4 separate regions of the Homo sapiens genome follow, and all the other regions are linked to region 2. Evidence: promoter capture Hi-C in human tissues and cell types (Jung and others, 2019). All regions are on one chromosome and are shown on one strand. Each heading gives the region's core, a stretch centred on a gene start or on the middle of the fragment in contact. The rest is flanking DNA. Distances are from core to core; before and after follow the strand shown.

What was found. The method cuts DNA at HindIII sites, captures the fragments that hold promoters and counts their contacts. A contact is called where the count stands out against the background at its distance.
Region 1: a contact is called between a fragment that was not itself captured here and the fragment with the promoter of LRRC14B in region 2, in 3 of the 25 tissues and cell types used here (IMR-90 fibroblasts, mesendoderm cells and thymus).
Region 3: a contact is called between a fragment that was not itself captured here and the fragment with the promoter of LRRC14B in region 2, in 4 of the 25 tissues and cell types used here (IMR-90 fibroblasts, lymphoblastoid cells, mesenchymal stem cells and 1 more).
Region 4: a contact is called between a fragment that was not itself captured here and the fragment with the promoter of LRRC14B in region 2, in 1 of the 25 tissues and cell types used here (spleen).

The regions. Positions count from the first base shown.
Region 1 is chr5:50,642-53,341 of GRCh38, forward strand. It overlaps LOC105374602 (a long non-coding RNA gene), which reads right to left and starts at 362. Exons shown (of 3, transcript XR_001742541.1): 1 at 185-362. RefSeq lists an enhancer at 657-1,570. The HindIII fragment of the contact is 8,408 bases long and covers 1-2,700 here.
Region 2 is chr5:190,153-192,852 of GRCh38, forward strand. LRRC14B (leucine rich repeat containing 14B) reads left to right here and starts at 1,343. Exons shown (of 2, transcript NM_001080478.3): 1 at 1,343-2,285. The coding sequence starts at 1,387. It overlaps LOC124900929 (a long non-coding RNA gene), which reads right to left. Exons shown (of 2, transcript XR_007058670.1): 2 at 2,576-2,700. RefSeq lists an enhancer at 1,008-1,057. The HindIII fragment of the contact is 15,773 bases long and covers 1-2,700 here.
Region 3 is chr5:31,883-34,582 of GRCh38, forward strand. All of the region lies in intron 2 of LOC105374602 (a long non-coding RNA gene), which reads right to left. Among named protein-coding and RNA genes, the nearest start is that of PLEKHG4B, 59 kb to the right of the region's middle. The HindIII fragment of the contact is 4,384 bases long and covers 1-2,700 here.
Region 4 is chr5:415,118-417,817 of GRCh38, forward strand. The region is part of intron 5 of AHRR (aryl hydrocarbon receptor repressor); the gene reads left to right. The region is part of intron 7 of PDCD6-AHRR (PDCD6-AHRR readthrough (NMD candidate)); the gene reads left to right. Among named protein-coding and RNA genes, the nearest start is that of EXOC3-AS1, 27 kb to the right of the region's middle. RefSeq lists an enhancer at 19-572. The HindIII fragment of the contact is 5,097 bases long and covers 1-2,700 here.

The DNA.
Region 1 (2,700 bases), core at 71-2,570, 140 kb before region 2:
CTAACTTCAACCCTAACCCTGACTTTAACGCTAAGCTCAAACCCTCACTCGCCCGGGTGCTCATTTCCACACCCACTCCGGTGCCGGGTCTCGCCTCTATCCACCTTGTCCCTCGTCCGTGCCCCCGCTCACTCCGGCGCCCGGCTGCTGCCCCACCCGCTTCGGTGCTTGTGCCCTCACCTACCCTGGCGCCAGGACCGCCTCTGCTGACTGCGCGCTGAGACTCATGCTGTCTCCGGGTCCCCGGAACTCCGCGGAGTCCGGTTAACTCCAACGCCTAATCCTAATTCCAAACCTGGGGATGCCCGGGGCCCGGCGTCTTCATCCCGCTGGGCACTGGGCCGGGGAAGCTGACCCGGCGACCTCAGCTGCCCGGTTCCCGGGGACCTGCCCGATCCAGGGCCCCCGCGGCGAGAGATGGGCGGTGGCGGCGCGGCGCTGCAGGACGCAGTCTCCCCCGGCCTCGCCCTCTCCGTCCCGGCGGGGCCGTAGTATCCCCGCGGAGGCTCGGAGGGGCCGGCCTGGGTGGGGCATCTCCCTGGTCTGCAGTTCTGGTTGTTTTTTTGTGGCTCCATGGTAAGCACCCCACTGATCTTATATCTTCCCCCCTTTTCCTGAAAGTCTGTTTTTTCATCCTTCCTTCCTTTTCATCATCTCCCGTTTTCAAAACGGCTCTTAAACCATGCGCAATGCGTTAACGTTAAGTCGTCATTTCCATCTACTCAATGACAACGTTTTATCACGTGTTGTTCTGACTTCCATTTTTGTTGTGTATTTGGTTCCTTGTTCTTTTTCTTTTCTTCCTGGGCTGGTTCCTCGTTCACTCTTTCTAGGTATGAGTGAACGGTTCCTTCCGGCTTGTCTAAATCTTCCATCTTTCGGGGTGGGTGGTGCTGAGCGGGCTCCAGGTGTGCGCCCTGCTCCTGCGAGGCGTGTGAGCGCTTATCGCACCCATGGCCCCTGCGCGCCTCTGTCCTGCCGGGTTCCCGCAGAGGCGCCTGGTCCACACGCTGTTTCTCCCTCTTCGCCTCCTCTCTAGCCCAGACTCCGGAGCAGGTCCCGGCTGCGTCTCCCACGTCTGGGTGTAGACCCGCGGTGTGGGCAGCCCTTCCTTTCGCTGCAGCCGAGTCTCCGCTATTACCGTTCAAGTTGTCCCTGGGTGGATTCTGAAAGGACAAGGGGGAAACGGCCCGCTCTACTCCATGGCGGGTCACTGACCTTCTGTTACATTTTATTTTACGTTGCCTTTGGCAGTTTTGAAACTGACCAATCCTTTTTGGAAATAAGAGAAGGTATAAAACCAAAAATGTTTTTTCAGTTCCTTTCTGAAAATGTGCTCGTTTTGGAGCCACTTGTGAGGACAAAGAGTTTGGAAAATTTAAGTGTCTCTACTTCTTCACTGTGTTTTGCTAACAAGAATGAAAAAAAAAGCATTAAAAATGGCCTTAATAAACGTCTTTCAACCTCAAACAGGACTATGTTATCAGGTAAACTATGTTATTTTCAACAAATCTTAAGTTCCTACCGCAATGGAGAGACTTTAGGTCCGTAAAGAGCAGTTGAGGCCGGGCACGGTGGCTCACACCTGTAATCCCAGCACTTTGGGAGGCCGAGGTGGGCGGATCACCTGAGGTCAGGAATTCAAGACCAGCCCGACCAACATAGTGAAACCCCGTCTCTACTAAGAATACAAAAATTAGCTGGACTTGGTGGCACACGCCTGTAATCCCAGTTACTCAGGAGGCTGAGGCAGGAGCATCGCTTGAACCAGGAGGCACAGGTTGCAGTGAGTGGAGACGGCGCCACCGCACTCCAGCCTGGGCAACAGAATGAGACTCAGTCTCAAAAAAAAAAAAAAAAAAAAAAAAAAAAAAAAAAAGCAGGCAGTTGAAACGCTTCCTCGGCAAGAAATAGACCTTTATGCGTGGCGGGGGACAGTCAGGGCGACAGGGGCTTCCCGAAGCTCACTGCCCAGAGGAGCAGAGTTTCAAGTTTGTTCTCCTTTCTTTTTTAGAGACAGGGTCTCGCCCTGTCGCCCAGGCTGGAGGGCAGTGGCGCGATCTCGGCTCACTGCAGCCTCCGCCTCCCGGGCTCAAGCAATCCTCCCGCCTCAGCCTCCGGAGTAGCTGGGACCACAGGTGCGCCAGGCTAATTTTATTTTTACTTTTTGTAGAGAAGGGGGTCTCACTACGTTGCCCAGGCTGGAAGTTTATTTTTAAGGAAATGGCGTTTACCTAAACACCAGGAAGCCTGGCCCTAGCACTACTGCGCCTCCACCTCAGCCCCCACTCCACCCGCACAGGTGAGGGTGCTCCGGAAAGGCTCCTGGGGCCCGGCTTCTTCATCTCCAGCCTCCGCACCTGGCGGAGGGAAGGGCTCGCCCCTAACCTGAGGTCAGAACTTGTTCGGGACCGCCGGGTGGAGACAAGGACGCGGGAACAAAACGTATGTGTGTGTTGGGGGGTGTTGCTGCGAGAGCGGGCAAGGGCGGGGACGCCGCGCTGACCCGGTCCTGGATCCCACCCGCGCTGGGCTCAGGGCCGCGGGTTCGGGTCCTGCCGGGCGTCCCACGCACCGGGGACGGGCACGAAACCGTCCACCTGCCTCAGACCTCGGCTGACCTCTGGGCCGCGGGAGGGCCCGAGGGTCTTTTCCGCCTCTGCTCGCTGTTGTGTCTCCAAGGTCAGAATCCCTGCGGCC
Region 2 (2,700 bases), core at 93-2,592:
AGTGCCTGGGCCCCACAACGGAGCACAGTCCCTTCTGCATGGGTCGCCTCCCGGGGAGAGGCATTGCTCAGGCTCAGGGAACAAACTGGGGAGGGTCAGACAGGGAGGCTGGTGGGGCACCCATGACCAGCACCCTCCAAGCTTGCTCAGCAGCCTTCCCCCTCCCACTGCTGTTTCTCTTTCTGTCTCCCCGTCTGTCTGTCTTTCTCAGTCTCTGTCTCTGCCTACCAGTCTCTCTCTCTCTCTCTTAGTCTCTGTCTCTCCCTTTCTGTCTCTCTCTCAGTCTGTCTCTTTCTGTTTCCCTTTCTCTCTCCCTCAGTCTCTGTCTCTCTCCCTCTTAGTTTCTGTCCCTCTGTCTCTGTCTCAGTCTCCGTCACTCACTTCTCTCAGTCTCCCTCAGCCTCTGTCTCATGGCCGTGACCCTCCAAAGCCCATGGACACGTGGTGCCCTGTAGTGATGTGTGCAGTGATGTGTGCAGCGATGTGTGCTGACCCTGCCCTGAGTGGCAGTGTCACGGGGAGAGGTGAGTGCAGCACCCATCAGCTGTCCAACACGGTCAGTGCTGGGAGTGAACCATCAGGCACCGCCCCCCAACACAGGTGTATCCCATTCCCTGCAGCTTTCCCTGCCGCACAGGCGGCAGGGTTGCAGACAGGACACTGCAGCTCAGAGAGAGCTGGGGGCTCATCCGAGGCCATCAGGGAGGCTCCACCTCTCCCAGCCACTCTCTCCCATGGAAAGTAGGGAAGCCACCCCCGCCGGGTCCTTGGGGAGAAGGAAAGGCACAGGGAAGGGGCAAAACAGCAGCTCCATTCCTGGCCACTCGTCTCACCCCAGATGCGAGGCGAAGTGTGGGAGCGGCCCCAGAGGCCACTGTGGAAAGGGAACTGGTTACCGAGTGAGGCGCAGGGGCCTGGCCTGTTCTCTGCCCCGTTGACTGGTGGGGGAGGTGCCCAGAGCTGGGCAGTAGCCCCGCTTGGATGGTAAACAGGACCTGCCCGCTGGCCTCACCGGCCGCCAGCACGAACGCCTGCCAAGACTGGCTTTCTGCAGCATGGAGCACAGGCTTCTCTGCCCAGCCCTGCCATGGGCACGGGCTGCCTTTCTGTGTCGGCTGGGTGCCTGAGCCAAGCAGCTCCCAACGGCTGGGTGCCTGAGCCAAGCAGCTCCCAACGGCTGGGTGCCTGAGCCAAGCAGCTCCCAACGGCTGCGTGCCCCGAGGCCGGGCAGACGCAGGTGTCCCAGGACCAAAATAGCAGTCAGATGATCATAAGGCCCCGTGGCAGGGCCCCCAGGGCAGGCTGCTCACAGCTGCTGCAGCTAAAGATAGGCGTGAAGGGCACACGCCTTGGGGAAAGTCGTGGGGAGCGGTCCTGTCTCGGGCCATGGACACAATGAGGTCACTCCGCTTCATTTCTGCAGAAGCTCTGGTGTCCCACCCCCAGGTGGCCCGGCAGAGCCTGGACAGCGTGGCCCACAACCTCTACCCACTCCTGTTCAAAGCCAGCTACCTGCTGGAGCAGGCGGAGGTGACGCGCGCGGTGCTGGGGCGCTGGCCCCTGGAGGAGTTCCGGCTGGGAGCGCTGCTGGGTCCTGGTGCCGACCACCCCCAGGACCTGCGCGACAGAACCTGCAGGGCCTGCCTGGAGGCGCTGGTGCGCGGCCTCGCGGACCACGTGCTGCAGGACCGGAGCCGCCGGCGGCTGCGGGTGGCTGACCTCACGGGCATCCGAGATGTGCAGGTGCAGCGGTGCCCGTGCGGGAGGGCGCTGGGCAGGTGGGGCCGCACCCAGCTGCTGGCCAGGACCTGCTGTGAGCTGCAGGCAGAGCCCCTCGCAGCCGGGCGCCCCGTCGAGGTCCTCGCCGACCTCTTCGTCACTGAGGGCAACTTCGAGGCGGTGGTGCAGGCTCTGAGGCCAGCGGGCCCGGCCCCTCTGCGGGTGCACTGCCCCTCGTTCCGGGCGGACAGCCTGAGCCCCAGCCAGCTCCTGCACGTGCTGCGTCTGGCTGGCCCGGGTGCCCTGCGCAAGCTGGAGGTGGTGCACAACGTGCGGCTGCATGCGGGCCACGTGCAGCAGCTTCTGGCCCAGGTGGGCTTCCCCCGGCTGGCCTCGCTCACCCTGCCCACCAAGGCCTTTGATGCACCCCCCACCTACGCCTCCACTCCCGACGGCGAGGACCCCCTCCTCGCCTCCATCGCCCGGGAGCTCAGCAAGATGGCGCAGCTCACTGAGCTCAGTGTGGCCTTCTCCACGCTGACCGGGAAGATCCCGACGCTGCTTGGGTGAGTCTTGGGGAGGGGACTGAGGGCGGGCTGGTGGCTGCAGAGGCAAGGAGAGATCGTCCAGGGGCCTGCTCATGTCCAAGGCCATGAGGCTACACGGCCTCCAGCCTCTCACTCCGGGTGTGGCCACAGCCACAGGACAGCGGCCCCGCCAAGGGGCAAGAGCACCGAAAGTCAGAGCCACCAGGAAAGAAGCGGGCTGCCATGTGTGACTTAGGGATGTGGAGAGAATGCCAGTTAAAAAAAGAGAATACGGAAATTACCAAACAGACGAAACAGAAGTGCCTACGTGGTGTGAGGAGTTGTCTATTGTTGATGAACGACTCACCCCAACACTTGGGGGCTTCAAACAGCAAACACGATTTCAGCTCAGAAATCTGAGCCTGTCGGTGCCTTTGGCTCAGGGCTGCTGTTG
Region 3 (2,700 bases), core at 172-2,671, 160 kb before region 2:
AGATGAATCAGGAAAATCAAAGCAGCTTCTTCAAAAACTAAATTACCAGAAAATGATATATAGGAGATACAGGGGAAATGTATAAATTATATAGACTTAAAAACACATCAGCTAATCACAATGTATGAATTTTGTTTGGGAATATAGACAGAACAGAATTGTCCATGTGTTTCTGGTTGCTCTGAAGGGTTATAGATATATAGGGGTTTGTTATATTCATTGTTTATTTACATATATGTTTTTAAATCTCCATATAAAGGTTTTAAAAATTCCGTTGGAAGACTTATGTTTTAAAATGTACTCAGAATTTGTTTTAATCGGGGATGTTAAGACCTGCAGACATGGAAGTGACTGTCCTGTGGAAATATGTTCATACTCACAGATCCCTAGAAATAGGAGGCACAGGGAAGCCCCAGGCACAGGCAGGAGAGGGGAAGGCATGGGCAGGAGCCTCTGCTGTGATCTCCGTGGGACAGCAAGGCCAGGCAGGGCAGGCAGGCTTAGGCTGGCCAGCCTGAATAGCTTCAGCAGGCTCTGGGGCATAGGGGCCATCTCTAATTGCCTAGTACCTGGCCCTGGGGTGATTAGGGAAGGGCGGTATTGTCTCTTACAGTATCAGAGCCAGATAAAGTAGGTGGTTAAGAGTGCGGGTTTTGGATTGATAGTTTAATTGGCTGGCCCTGGGAAAGGCAATCTTTTCCCAGTAAACACCAGATGCTAGAGCATCAGGAAAATAGAAAATAAAAAAAATAATTAATGCATTCTGTACGCACAGATGGAGAATTCCTTTGCTTCCCCAAAGGAAGAGTGCACAGGAGCCTGGCACTCCTGGACCTGAGGAAACCCTGAAAATGTTGGTAGCTGCAAATCTCCAAAAAGAGGTCGCCAGTCTCCTAAGACTGCAAGACTGACCCAGCATTCTGGGAGCCAAGAGGCAGAAAGAGTCTGCGGATCTCCCTGCTCAGTAAATTGGCTTTCACTAAATACTCTCTTTGCATAAGCAGCGTTACCCAGTGTCCTGGAGCTTAGAAAAGTCCTGTTTCAATGTCTGAAGAAAATAAATTGTTTCTTTTTCCAGTGTCAGGGAGGAGTATTTGACTGCCAGTGTGGACTGAGGGGTCTTGGGATCACACTCTTCCCAATGTGCTTTGAACCGACCCTCTGTGCCTGCCTCACCATCTCCTCTGCTTACCTAGACATGTGGAAACCCTAACACAAGCCCTTCTAGGAGTCTGTGGTGTGGCTCAGCTGCCTCTGTAGTCATCTCTCTTCCCAATATGCTTTGAACTGGCCCTTCTGTGTCTGCCTCACCATCTCCTCTCCTTACCTAGACACTTGAGAACCCTAACACAAACCCTTCTAGGAGTCTGTGGTGTGGCTCAGCTGCCTCTGTAGGCATCTCTTGGGGTTAAACATTTTCCACTCTCCTAAGGCAGTGCCATCTATTCTTCTGCTTCATCTTCAGAAGACACTGAGCCCTTCCCCACCCTCCCTTCCCCACCCCCCACACCAGGTCCATGGCGCCCTTGAGGCCACAGGGTTGCTGCCATAAGATTTTTGTACTGACTGCTCTCTCCAAGCAACTGTGAGAGATTTCTATGGGCAAGGCCTCCAGGTTCCTGTCAAATCAAATTGTAGTTGAATGTTGGATACTATTCAAGGAGCATCCCCTTTTCTCCTTCCTAACAGAGCCCTGAGTTATTCAGTCACATGGTTTGAAATATGGGGTGGGTGCTGGTTGACTTAACCTAACCAGCACTGTCTCACCCTATGTCACAGTTATTGGTTCCAAGGTGGGTGCGCAACTGAGGCTCATGCCAGGTGCCACACAGCACTCCCTTGGTCCCCCTAATGGACTTGGGGATGGGCAAGGGCCTGAGTTGTTCCAATTAGAGTCAAATACAAGTTGTACTAAGAGAGTGCTTGTTCATGCTCCCTCTTTGATGAAGAATGCAGCCTCAGAAATTATTCCTGGAGATTTTGCCATGCTAAGACTGATTCTGACTTCACTGAAGGCAGAGCAGAAAATTGGGAAGAGACTGAGTCCTGGGTAGCATCCATGAACTTCTGTGCTCAGATTCACCCTGAAGCCTGGCCTGCTTCTGAACTACCCATCTGAGTCAATAAATTGCCTTCTTATTAAAGTCAAATTGAGCTGGATTTTTAGTTACCTGCATCTGCAGTTGTTCTGTGAAGCTAATACTATGAGTTTGTATCTGAGAATATTTACAGTGCTTCTCTCATGGTTGAGTCAATCATTTCAAGGGTGCTTTAAGGGTAAAAAGAATGATCAATTGTGAAGCAGTGAATTATGCTGCCAGGCACAATTCATTGGGCAATATAAAACTTCATTTCCTGGGCAGTAGAAAGTTTCATTGTACATAAATTACATATCTTGTTTCTGCCTCAACCTCCTATTTATTCATAGGCAAAGGAGATAAGGAAGTCCACATAAGTCCAGCAGCTAATATGCCTCTCGGGCATCATCCAAAACAGATTTGAATTATGCAAGCCTTGTTAAAATTCATCATCATCATTCATATTTCTGAATATTTAAATTAGAAATTCTGAAAAAGTAGTTTGATTCAGAGGTAGTTTGTATATATGTAGGCATTTTTTCAGGATCAAAAGCTTATTTTTTATTGTCTAATTGAGTTTAATTTACATATAATAAAATTTAGTAATTTTAAGTGAAGAAAT
Region 4 (2,700 bases), core at 173-2,672, 230 kb after region 2:
AGATGCGCACCTGGAGGCCGCTAGGCGCTGGGGGAAGCTGTGACACTGCGGGGTGCACACCGGCCCCAGGGGAAGCCCTACCCCTGCACTACCCAGCACCTCTGCCTACGAGGAAAGGGTCCCAGAGCCAGCATTCACGCTGAGCCAGAGGCAGCACACGGTGATTAAAGCAAAAATCTGCCTGGTCGGGTGGGAGGCCTAGGGGCCGAATCTGCCTGGTGGGGCGGGAGGCCTAGGGGCCGAGTCTCCCTGGTCGGGTGGGAGGCCTAGGGGCCGAGTCTGCCTGGTCGGGTGGGAGGCCTAGGGGCCGAATCTGCCTGGTCGGGCGGGAGGCCTAGGGGCCGAGTCTGCCTGGTCGGGTGGGAGGCCTAGGGGCCGAGTCTCCCTGGTCGGGTGGGAGGCCTAGGGGCCGAGTCTGCCTGGTCGGGTGGGAGGCCTAGGGGCCGAATCTGCCTGGTCTGCTGGGAGGCCTAGGGGCCGAATCTGCCTGGTGGGGCGGGAGGCCTAGGGGCCGAATCTGCCTGGTGGGGCGGGAGGCCTAGGGGCCGAATCTGCCTGGTCGGGCGGGAGGCCTAGGGGCGGAGTCTGCCTGGTCGGCTGGGAGGCCTAGGGGCTGTGCAGAGCAGCAGGCAGTGGAAGCCACGAACCACCCCGCTCGCCCACACTAGTCCCTGACAAGTCATTAGAATTCACGTCTGCGCAGGCCCTGAGGCTGCACAGTTTTATCCAATTTCCATAAGAGCTGGGCTTTTGAATTTTTTCCCACAGCTGAAATTGCTGCTGCCTTGCTGGTGATTCTGCAAAAAAACTCCTCTAGTCCGCCTCTAAGTTCAATCTCCTGCCCCTGAGCCCAAGGCCAGTCTCCCTGTGAACTGCAAGGACCACGTGACTGCCGGGCCCATTGCAGTGAGCTTGTTTTCTGCACCGTGGCTGTGTCTGCACACTGGATGCCTCCTTGGGATGGCCTCTCCCCCAGCATCCACGTGAAGGTGCAGCTCGTCAGCACGCCTGGGCTGGCCCTGGTGGAGGACGCAGGGGGACATGGCTGTGTGCAGGGAGAGGGAACACCGTGCAGTGGACATGGCTGCCAAGGGGTGTCCAGGCCACTGCCCTGTTGGGAACGCAGTGCAGGGTGGAGACACAGCTCTGCTGTCCCAGCAGCGACCTTGATGGCTCTGAGCCTCATTTCCTGTGCCCACACAATGGCCAGCAGCGGTGTTTGCCTGCCAGGCTGTGGCCAGACCACGGGGCCACTGAGCAGGGGAGTGCTGGGAAAAGCCCTGGTGCCCGGCACGGCGTCTCCTACCACAGAGTGACATCGCTCTAGGCGGCTGCTGTTGACACCACGTGACCACAGGCTTTGCTGAGTGTGCCCTGGTATCTGTGGTTGGGGCACTGTCATCTCCTGATGCGCCCTGTGAGAGGGGACCTGAAGTGACGCCTGGTGGGTCCCTCGTTCCCACAGATGGCATCAGCGTCTGGGTGGCCACCCGGCATCCTCTTCATCTCCATCTTCTGTGCTCAGATCCCATGGAGCTGCCGTGGGATGCTTCCTTTACACGTGTGGAGAGTAGTGGAGTGGGTCCGTTGGGTCCGTAGGCGTTTGCTGGGGTTTGGTGCATCCTTCACTGTGGGGTGCCGTGAACGGGGGAGCACTCACAGTACAGGACATGGGCGGACATGACGGTGTGGCTCGATGACTTTGTCAACTTAAACAGAGCAGCTTCGGCTTGGTCTTTTTGTGCAGGGCCCATGTCTAGAGAAGGTGGCTTGGTCCATATGTGCAGGTCCCGAGTCTAGAGAAGGCGGCTTGGTCTTTATGTGCAGGGCCCGAGTCTAGAGAAGGCCGCTTGGTCTGTATGTGCAGGGCCCGAGTCTAGAGAAGGCGGCTTGGTCTTTATGTGCAGGGCCCATGTCTAGAGAAGGTGGCTTGGTCTGTATGTGCAGGGCCCGAGTCTAGAGAAGGCCGCTTGGTCCGTATGTGCAGGGCCCGAGTTTAGAGAAGGCGGGGTCTGTATGTGCAGGGCCTGAGTCTGGAGAAGGCCGCTTGGTGTGTATGTGCAGGGCCCATGTCTAGAGAAGGTGGCTTGGTCTGTATGTGCAGGGCCCGAGTCTAGAGAAGGCGGCTTGGTCTGTATGTGCAGGGCCTGAGTCTGGAGAAGGCGGCTTGGTCCATATGTGCAGGTCCCGAGTCTAGAGAAGGCCGCTTGGTCTGTATGTGCAGGGCCTGAGTTTAGAGAAGGCGGCTTGGTCCGTATGTGCAGGGCCCGAGTTTAGAGAAGGTGGCTTGGTCTGTATGTGCAGGGCCTGAGTCTGGAGAAGGTGGCTTGGTCTGTATGTGCAGGGCCCGAGTCTAGAGAAGGCCGCTTGGTCTGCCTTCTGCATGCTCAGAATCACTGTCAACTCTAGTTACTGCATCTTGAGCTGCCCTGAGTTCTCCAGATGCACCCAGAGCCGCTGCCTTTAGCCATGGCTCGATGGTCTCACCCCAGGGTTTGGCTTTGGGGACTGGGGCAGGTGCTGTGCAGAGCAGCTTTGATTCCAGGTCAGAACTTGCTAATTGGACTTTTTGTTTTCTTGGCACTTGGTCATTTTTCCCCAAGCATGAGAAGTTAAAAAAAAAAAGTTTTGCCTTGATTATGAGGAAATTGGTTCCAAATGCCATTAAATCAGGCATTGCCTCTAGTTTATGCAAAATAT